Regions from separate parts of the Homo sapiens genome. Here region 2 is linked to region 1. Evidence: promoter capture Hi-C in human tissues and cell types (Jung and others, 2019). All regions are on one chromosome and are shown on one strand. Each heading gives the region's core, a stretch centred on a gene start or on the middle of the fragment in contact. The rest is flanking DNA. Distances are from core to core; before and after follow the strand shown. Region 1 overlaps FBXW4 (F-box and WD repeat domain containing 4). Region 2 holds the start of NPM3 (nucleophosmin/nucleoplasmin 3).

Region 1 (4,941 bases), core at 1,223-3,722:
ACAGGCATGCACCACCACACCCAGCTAATTTTGTATTTTTGGTAGAGATAGGGTTTCTCCATCTTGGTCAGGTTGGTCTCGAACTGCCGACCTCAGGTTATCTGCCCACCTCGGCCTCCCAAAGTGCTGGGATTACAGGCATGAGCCATGGCGCCTGGCCTAATTTAATTTTTTAATAGTTAACACTTTCATCAATATCACTTTTGGTGCAAGAGGTGAATTCAACTTACTATTGTTGTCTACAACTTTGTTAAGTAATTCTCTTTTCCTTTGTTTTGGACAGCTTATTTTGCCATATAATAAGTTTATATATATATTATATATAATATACACATGTATATACACATAGACATATATGTGTGTATATTGGATCTATATCTGAACTCTTCATTGTGTGTCACTGATACAGTTTTCCATTTCCATACTATTTTAAATATTGTTACTTTTTGATAGAGTCTAGTAATCTGTCAGGGTAAGATTATCCTGTTGGATTTATGTGTGTGTGTCACTTCTACACTTCTGTTCAACTCTCTGTCAAAAAAAAAAATTCTGTACTTTTTCAAGGACTTTTGTGGTTTTCATGATAAAGTTCTTACATATCTGTTGTTGCACTTACTCCTATGTATTTCCGAAAATGTTATGCATTTCGTTTTTATTGCAAATACACTCTCTTCAGTATGTTTTCTGGCTGGGTATTACTGAATGTAGAAGATTACTCTACTCTTGTAAATTTTGAATTTGATGGTTTTTTATTCTAGGATGATTGTATTCATGATAATGGTTCCTTGGGACTTCTTGGGCATGCAGTCTTGTCACCTGCAGAAATAGTTTTTTATTCTCTTCCTTTCTCATGAGAATAACTCTTTCAAAGAATATTATCAGTTAACCTATAAGAGAAGTCTAAAGTGACTGTAACCCAAGCTAGCTAAGGCAAAGTTTGGCTTTCTCTCTCTTCATATAGAGATTGAGTGAATGAATGAAAGAATTGATGTTTATTTTCAAATGCTCTAAAAGAGAGATATTGGGAATGAATCTACATTCTGTAGCAATAATAACAACAAAAAAAAAGAAAGTGAATTTATGGTGTAAAATGCTTTGAGATTGCCAAATGATATGGCTTTATTATTTATTAGACATGTGTGTTTTGATTTCTCGCCCATGTCCTAGGGTAAGGTGTCCTGGCCTTCTAGGGAAGTTATTTTGCCATAGCACTTGATAAAGAGCAGGGTCACTGCTCGGGTTTTCTGGATTGAGGGAAGAAGTTATGCGTGTTACAGCAGGTGGAGAGAATGTTTACCAGTGTGGTCCGTTTCTGGACAGCTGCAGAGACTTAATAAGCCACTGAGAGAGGTGGTTGTCATCCCTGGAGGGAGAAGGCATGCACCCCAGTCCACTTAGGGAGTCAGCGAACCCGGGCCCAAAGTACAGCAAGAGTATGGCTGCTTGGATAGTGGCAGGGCTGTCGTTCATTGCTTTGGGCTAATTAACTGCAGACTAGATAAGTGAGATGAGTTTTTATCAGCATTACACAAAACTTGATTTGACCAGAAGCCACATAACCTCACTGGCCCTAGGTTTTATTACCTATAAAGAATGGGAATAACCTTGCCTGGTAAAATGAGGCTTAAGTGTAGAATGCTGGCTAGTACAGCATTAAGCACATAGTAAGCACACAATAAATTGTAAAACGGAACTTTTTAATTGTTTGGGTTCTCCTCTAGTTAGTCTGTATATAGCAAAAGTGGGGATGGTTTGACTTAGAGGTGCTGACTAAAGACAAAGGGAAGAACACGCACACACACGCACTGTGCTTCGTTTCTCTCACCTGTCCTGAATGTTTTTGGAAACATGACAGCAGAACCTGTGGACTTATGGCCTGCACTCCGGGACGAAGAGCCTCTTGATTCTCAGAAACACAAACTGCTAAGGTTTACTGACCTTCCGGCCCAGGGCAAGTCCCATTCAGTTTGGCTGTTCCTAACTGATCATAGCTTTGTTGAGTAAGATGAACTGCTTTGGTTCCTTGTGATTTGCTAATGGTCTTATACTTGTGCTTGAAGGCATTCTGGCCACTTTAAAACCACAAACAAATAATTTGCTTCCCTTTAGGCCTCTTGCCCGAACAGTGAACACTAATAGATATCCTAAGCTTACTTTTCTTTTTTTTTTAAAGGGACACAAAGATAGTTGGAGTCAGTCATCTGATTTAAAATCAGTTTTGTTTGGAGATTTTATGAAGCCTGTTGGAATAGAAATATCCTGAATATAACAATAAAAATCAAAGAAATGTTTCATATAGCAGTCTTTCAAATTTTCCCTAAAGAGTAAGAGGACAAACTAACCTAGTTCCGTTTACAAGAACAAGACAGTGGAATTCAGCTGTCACTTGATAATGTAGACTGAATGCAAGAAGTAGACATTATGACAGGGGAAGAACAGGAGCGCTATCTGCAAATTCTGATACTGAAAATTAACAAACGCAAATAATGGAAAGAAAAAGTACATCTGTGCATGTAAAGCTATTTTTAAAAGATTCTATTGCCAGTCTTATGTTAAAGAAAGCTTACTTGATCCTCTTCCTCCCGAATTAAGTGCTACATATTCTCAAATAGGAATTTTATTTTAAATAGCCTTTGAGCAGTACCTGGGTGCTGTCTTGCATTTGCCTATGATAGATTTGCCTGGAATTAACAATAGGTGTTTAGGGAGTGAGGCTCCTGAGGTGTTTGTCCTGGCATGTACATTCATTCCTGTGGAGGGGTCCTGTAGCCTTGGAGCTCTTTGAGGCTGGGGGCCTGGGGTATCTATTTCAGTGATGATTAACGTCCAGAGTGGTGAGATAGACACAGATAAGCAGAGTGTGTTTATTTGTTTTAAAATGATTGTGCCTAAGAGCATTTTCTTGACCCAGAAAGCATATAGTTTCCTAACCAGTTTCCTAACCCTGAATGGAGATGGTATTGCTAACTGGTTACATTTAAGGCCTAAACTGTGATCTTCAGAAAACAATTAACAACTCAAAGTAGCTTAGGCTTTCTCCAGTTTTCTGCCTTACCCAGGGAGGACAGTCACTTATTTGTTCTGTAATTCACGGAATGATTTCGAATATGGATGTATTTATTGTCTTCGGCGTTTGGAAAGGCCTTATTTTTAATGGTTTCTATGAGTTAATAAAATAGAGTTTAGTTTACAGGTTCAAAATAAAACAGTACACCTGTGGAAGCAGGACATGGTCTAGTGCAATCACTACCTCCAAATGCGAACTGGAAGAATGGAAGAAGCCTTCTCTAAGACCATGAGAATACAGAAGCTGTTTATATCCTTTCCAGTCTTGTAAAACTTGAATGGTAGGGGCTGAATTTTCTAGCTTTCAAGGCAGAAACATGGAGAAACCCAATGTCTTCACAGTCTGTGAGATGAGCAATCTGTAGTATGAGTTCATACTGGAATGAGAGCTCTGAAAATATTTCGGTACTCCATACTTTCATTTTTTTTTTTTGCACCTGGAACCTTCATCTAAGGTAAAGATTGTGCTTGAGCTGCTGAAATCCCCAACTGACAGTGAGGTCACTGAGGAAGTATACAGGTTTTTTAAAAAATTATTTTTGAATGTGTGACTTAGAAAAGAATTACGTGTGTGTGACAACTTAACCTTAGCTCTGGGTTGACCCTGGCACTGGATTAGTTTCTGGTCCTGACTTGTAACCATGGAACTGGGAGAAATTTAGGCAGATTCTTATTGAGACCAGGCTCCAAAAATATTTGAAAATTAAGATGAGATCAACTGTTTGAAAAAAAGAGGAGAAAATTGGGTTTTGAATTTTCAGTGAAAATTGGCAGACTCCCTTCTTTGATCTGCAGAAACTGACTTTTGCTAAGCTTCAGAATTTACCTCAGGTGTGTCAACCATGAGTCAAGGTTGAGAATCCAAAGATTTGGTTTACCCTTGAGGAAAGTCCTTCCTATTCAGTAGTCTTGCTCAGATGGAACTCCAATTGTAATCAATTGAATCAAAATGGTTATGGTAATTAAGAATATGTTTATGTACCCTGAATCATGTAAATATTTGAGCTTTCTCTAAAAATGAGTATGAGACTATCTGGAGAAAGAATTTATCTCCTGTTAGAGGTTTGGCTGCCTTGTCTCAATTTTGAGTCATTTCTTCATTTTATCCAAACTGTCCACATTGCCCTCCCTGGAAGTCTGGGCCACCCAATGGGCCCCTGTGCCTGCCGCCCCTCTTTAGCCCACAATTAATTGCCAGCACATTCTTTCTTCTTCCTCTTCTTTTTTGGTATTTGACATGAGCTCAAATTGCTGAGAAAGGTGACAACTGTGAAATGAAGACAGGGCTTGGAGACACCTTAAAAAATACATGCAAAGGCCACTAAATGACAAGAGCAGACTGCCAGGCTCTTTCAAAACATCACCACGTCTGTTGACTTTCCATTCCTTGTCCACAGCACAAAATTGGAGGTCAAAGAATCATAGGAGTTAGAGATGGAAAAGACATTTGGGGTCAGCCAGTTCATTCCTCTGCCTTCTCCTGCCCCTGATTTCAAATCATTCCTTACATTATATTTTCTCCCCCAGCTCTTGTACAGTTTTCACGGTCTTCACTCAACCCTGGCTGTCACCTTTGGGGAATGATGCTGGAGGTTGTCTCCAGTTTCTCCTCAGCAAAGAGAGATATTGCCTGTGCCCCCAGTTGACATTCATGGACTTCTTTGTTGGTGGTCTCAGCTGAGAGGCTGAAGGATAACTGGATGCTTCTCTGTTGCCTGGTGATGGGGTGTTTTTAGACAGAATTGAAGAGCATTTAGTGTATGATGATATTGGGCAAGGGATATTGGGCAAGGGCTGGGGTGTAGGGTAGCCATTGATGAATTTGTTCCTAGACTTTTGTTGTTCAAGTCTCTTGACCTGGAGGGGGATTCGTAT
Region 2 (4,941 bases), core at 841-3,340, 93 kb before region 1:
TAGGACTTAATCTGTTGAAAAGTGCAGTTACTTCTGGAAATTAACCTCAATATTAGGTCAGCATGTGAAATGTTGGATTTGACATGTCAGGTAGGGTTCAGGGACTGATTGGTCCCATTTGCCCTCAGGTCAGTTGTTTAATCTCAAGACCTGTTACTACTGATTTTATTAAATCAGAGTCTTTAATTCTTGCATGTTTGTATCTAATTTCTGAATGAATGAGCACACTTTAACCAGTTATTTACAGTTACCTTTTTCCTTTAACCGGATTGTGAAAGCTTCATGTATTTTAATTTAGATTCTGTGTTTTTAAGGGTTCTGAGCATGAAGCTGGCAGATAGTCGGCAGGACTCATTTTTTCATCATGGCTGGCTGATTTCTCCATAGATTGATAACAGTATTTTGTTATCTTGCTTCTCTGTAGTTTTGCATCAGCTGTTTAACTTTGAGCTGAGTGAGGGGAGAGGGGTAAAGAGAAAGAAACTTAAGTTTTCTTTCACAGAACTCCACCATTGTGGGCTTTGAGAGAGCCCTAAAGCATTGTACCTAGTGGTACCTAGTGACTTCCAACCAAAGCCTTTGAGTATGCACTAAATAGGTGAGAAGAAAGGAGAGAAGGTTTTTAGGTTAGAAACCTTTAACCGATAGAAGGATATGGTATGTTGTAAAGCTGGAACCAAGTTTGCATTTTTGAGGGCTTGAGATGAAGGGAAGACTCTTACCAGATAGTAAGACAGCTGAGTTTTCCTCAGTTTTCTCGTCTTAACACTAGTGGACAATTCTAGCATTTTGTTTGGAGGATTTCAGAGTTAACCTCATGGAATTCAGGATTTTTTAGCAAGTTTGCTTTTGGTTTTATCTTGGCTTTTAGTAATCATGTTGGCTGGTCTGGTCACAGGTGACTGTGAAACAGATGCCCTGGTCTTGCTTTCATCACTCTAGGATCATGAAGTGCTATGCTATTTCCTGGTTATGAATATTAAGGTTGGAATTACATTTTTATTGATTGTTTGGATCAGAGCTCAGTTCCTGTAGAAAACGAACTGTAAAAGACCATGCAAGAGGCAAAATAAAACTTGAAGTGAATGCTTGTCGTGTTGTATTGTGTGAATCTATTTCCTGTCTGCCCCCTCCCTTTTCTCCTCTTTCATGCCTCACCTACAAGCAGGTATTCTCTCCTCTCCACAGCTGTTCCAAGTTAGAGATTGGATCTTGAAGGCAGCCCTCCCCTACCTCCATCACCAGTAAGACTTCCAGATTTTCATTAAGACAAGAGCTAAGAAAAGTAGACTAGTTTTTAGCCAAGCCACCCCACCCTCTTGCCACAGTTATAACCTGGATGTGAAATAGGGCCTCTAGTTTGAGTTTTGCCATCTATTAGGATAGAAAGCACACAGTTTGCCTGATTCTTAAAAGGCGAAAGATGGCGCGAGTAGCATAAACTGACAAAATAATCCACGGCGCAAAGATACTCCTGGATGATTTGGAATTAAAAGCTCAAAAAGCGTGGGTGGGCCAGGAACAGCCAACACACATGAGCTAACTAGTCCTCTGCTAGCAAGTGCCAGCAGCTAAGTCTCAGTGAAGGCATAGCAAGTTGCGGGGTCTTTAGAGCAGGAAGAATTAAGAGAGGCTTAGCCGAGAGGACAGACAGGACAGACGTGTTGGGATGGAAATTCCTAAGGCTCCTCGGCTCTCTTGAGGCAAAGACAATCTGAGTGCATTTCCTTTGCTTGTAGCAGAAAAGCACTGCCCTGAACCCCACCTTTGCTGGGAGGAGTAAGAAGGGTTTACATTTTTATATCTATAACTCCTTTAACGAAAGCTTACCCTGGGTTGGAAGAGTGGGAGACACTCTTCCGACACAGAGCGAGGAGCTTGGGGAAGTGGACACCCTCATGGTCGTGGAAATGAGCAAGGATGTTAACATAAACCCCAAATCCATTCTTCTGTGATGTTACTTCCTTTCTCTTCGGTCTTGATAAAATATGAGCAGAAGCTGCGGGCTCCGGGTAGGGCTGCGGGGTCTCGGCGCCTTTTCTTTTCCAGGACTGTGCGTCTCCTTTAATGGGCGGGGCCGGAACTGGCCGAGGGTCCCCGGCTTTGTGCGTGTCGGGGGCGGAGTTTGAAGAAGGCTCTTACAGCATGGCCGCCGGTACTGCAGCTGCCTTAGCGTTTTTGAGTCAGGAGAGCCGAACGCGGGCCGGGGGTGTCGGGGGCCTACGGGTCCCGGCCCCGGTCACTATGGACAGTTTTTTCTTCGGTATTAGTGAAGGGAGAGGCTGAGGGTGGTACTGGGGCGGTAAGAGGTAGGGATGTGAGGCGGGAATGCGGAGGGTTTCAAGGCGTGGGTGTGGGCGGAGGGCTGCTTCGCTGTTCCCGCAGGAGAGGGGGCCTCGCACGCACAGCCAAAGGGGGTGGCGAGATCCCTGCCCCAGATGTGTTGGGCGGGGCCCACGGCAGAGCGTCCCAGGTGTTCTGAGAGAAGAGACGGAGGTGGACGTGTAAATGACCCGTCCGCCCAAGGTTACACGTGACGGCGGGTTGGTGACATCCCCCGCTGCCCAGCCCCGTACACACGCTCAGGCATACTCACTGTTATTTCTACCAGGCTGTGAGCTCTCCGGCCACACCCGCTCCTTCACCTTTAAGGTAGAGGAAGAGGATGATGCGGAGCACGTGCTGGCACTAACCATGGTGAGGGGCAGGGGAGTGGGGTTTTAATGAATAAGCCCAGGCAGGCAATATAGGTCTCTACCCAACCTCCGGATCCCCTTTACTTGGAGACACATCCTCAGCCTAACCCCCCGGCATGGGCGGCTCCCCTGGCCAGGTGAACCGGGACCTCTGAGGCTGGGCAGGTGCTAGGGTAGATGCCTTTAGTTGTGGTGTCAACCCTCACTTGAGGAGACCCTGAGGCCCTGTGTACCGTTCCCAGCTCTGCCTCACCGAGGGAGCCAAAGACGAGTGTAATGTGGTAGAAGTTGTGGCCCGGAACCATGACCATCAGGAGATCGCAGTCCCTGTGGCCAACCTCAAGCTGTCCTGCCAACCCATGGTGAGTTCCCCAGCTCTGCCTTGGTGGTGGTGGTGGTGGTGGTGAGGGGATTGAGGACGTTAGCACTCATTACAGTGTGGGGTGGGCTAGGAGTGGGCCAGGCCTTCATCCTTGTCTTCCTCCCAGCTCAGTCTGGATGACTTCCAGCTCCAACCACCTGTAACCTTCCGCCTGAAGTCGGGCTCTGGCCCTGTGCGGATCACTGGGCGGCACCAGATTGGTGAGAAGAGGGGAGGGCCCTCTCCTTTGCTTCCAGTGGACTCTCCCATCAGGCTTCCCCCACTCCGCACTCCTGCCCCATCCCACCCTCATCTCCCAGTGCAGCCCTGTACAGGTCTGTGTGCCCTCCACGCTGTGCCCTGTGCATGACATGCCCTCTCCTTTCCGTCTACTCAAGCCTACCTCCTCCATGGAACATGGCCCAACTTCTCCAGCTCCAATAATGAAGACTCCTTTGGCTCTTTGTGACCCAGTTTAGGGTCTGAGGTTCTTCCCACCTAGCCCATAAGCACTGGGAGGTCATGGTCCCTGTAAGCCTAACACCACGGCGTGAAGAAATGGCATGCGGTGTGAAACGGTCTGGTCTTAACACCCCATCCTTCTACTGCTTGTGTGTCCACCAGTTACGATGAGCAATGATGTTTCTGAGGAGGAGAGCGAGGAAGAGGAAGAGGACAGTGATGAGGAAGAAGTTGAGCTGTGCCCCATCCTTCCTGCCAAAAAGCAGGGGGGCAGGCCCTAGCCCTCCTAGGTGAGTTGCGGGGAGAAGTGCCTAGCAGGCTCTGGGAAGGGGCAGGAGAAGCAGGTGAGGGCCTAAATGCTGATTCCTTGTTTCCTCTTTTCAGGTCAGCTCCATGTGCCATGCACCGCCATGCACCCTGTTCCCTGACAAGTTTCAACAATTGTAAATATTTCTTCCTTGAAGAGGAGAGCTTGGGTGGGGGTTGGGTGGGAGGGACTTGGGTCTTTGGTGCTAGGAGAGGGCCTGTGCTCCACACAGCCGTGGTTTTCTGATTTTCACCATGCCCGGGGCCTCCCTTCCCACCTGCCTGTGAGAATTGGAGGTTAGTGCCTGAAGCTCAGAGCTACACATTTTTAATAGTTTTTACATTTTTGGATAAAGGTTGAAATAAAGTGGTGTGGAGTTTTTGCAGCTCTTGTGTGGCTTCTTCCTGTGCTGGGTGATGTTTCCCTAGGGACCGCCAGGTGGCACTGTGGAAGCACCCAGCGTGGCCCTGGGCCTGGGGGAGGGTGGAGAACTGTGGGATCCTCTACCCTCATGGCCCTGGGCTAGGACCTGGGGCCTGGGCCCCAGTTGCCTTGCTGGAAGGGGACCTCCCAACACTCAGCCCATTCCCAGTCTCTGCAGGTGGGAGAGGGTCATCGCAGGAGGTTATCAGCATCCAAACAAGGGGTCTGGGCCTCTGTCAGCACTCGGCTGATGGGCAGGGGGGCAGATAAGCGAGCTTAGGCAGCCTGAGGAATGCGCGTCCCTAGCCCCACGAGGGTCTCTGGCCCAGAGAGGGCCTGTGAGGGCAGGGCGGGACCAGGCTTCGCTCCTCCTTTGAGCCTTGCAGGCTGTCTCTGAGCAGGGCTGGGCCCTTAGAGAAACCTGACTCCGGGGGCCAGATGGAGGGGACTGGCCAGATTGGGTGACAGGGAAACCAGAATCCGGGTGGCCTGGCATATGGGGGCAGAAAGGGGCCCCAGGGAATTTGCCTCCTGGACTAAGGGATTCTTGTCCCCCACACACCGTGGGGTCTGGGGGTCTTTGGTGCCTGGAATCAGGTAGTTCTGGCACTTGGCTGCCTTTGTGCCAGGAAGAACTGACACACCTGGTTTGAGGATGAGTGTATGTGACCAGCTCTGGGGTCAGCAGTTCA

What was found. Contacts are between HindIII fragments. The study calls those that stand out against the background at their distance.
Region 2: the fragment with the promoter of NPM3 here is called in contact with a fragment that was not itself captured in region 1 in 4 of the 25 tissues and cell types used here (bladder, dorsolateral prefrontal cortex, hippocampus and 1 more).

The regions. Positions count from the first base shown.
Region 1 is chr10:101,687,693-101,692,633 of GRCh38, reverse strand. The region is part of intron 1 of FBXW4 (F-box and WD repeat domain containing 4); the gene reads left to right. Among named protein-coding and RNA genes, the nearest start is that of FBXW4, 5.0 kb to the left of the region's middle. The HindIII fragment of the contact is 4,070 bases long and covers 438-4,507 here.
Region 2 is chr10:101,780,595-101,785,535 of GRCh38, reverse strand. It overlaps NPM3 (nucleophosmin/nucleoplasmin 3), which reads left to right and starts at 2,090. Exons shown (of 6, transcript NM_006993.3): 1 at 2,090-2,263; 2 at 2,612-2,697; 3 at 2,939-3,058; 4 at 3,185-3,278; 5 at 3,682-3,809; 6 at 3,904-4,211. The coding sequence starts at 2,146. The coding sequence ends at 3,800. It overlaps OGA (O-GlcNAcase), which reads left to right. Exons shown (of 16, transcript NM_012215.5): 16 at 1-1,086. RefSeq lists enhancers at 2,523-3,162, 4,090-4,384, 4,263-4,941 and a promoter at 4,230-4,941. The HindIII fragment of the contact is 4,177 bases long and covers 1,053-4,941 here.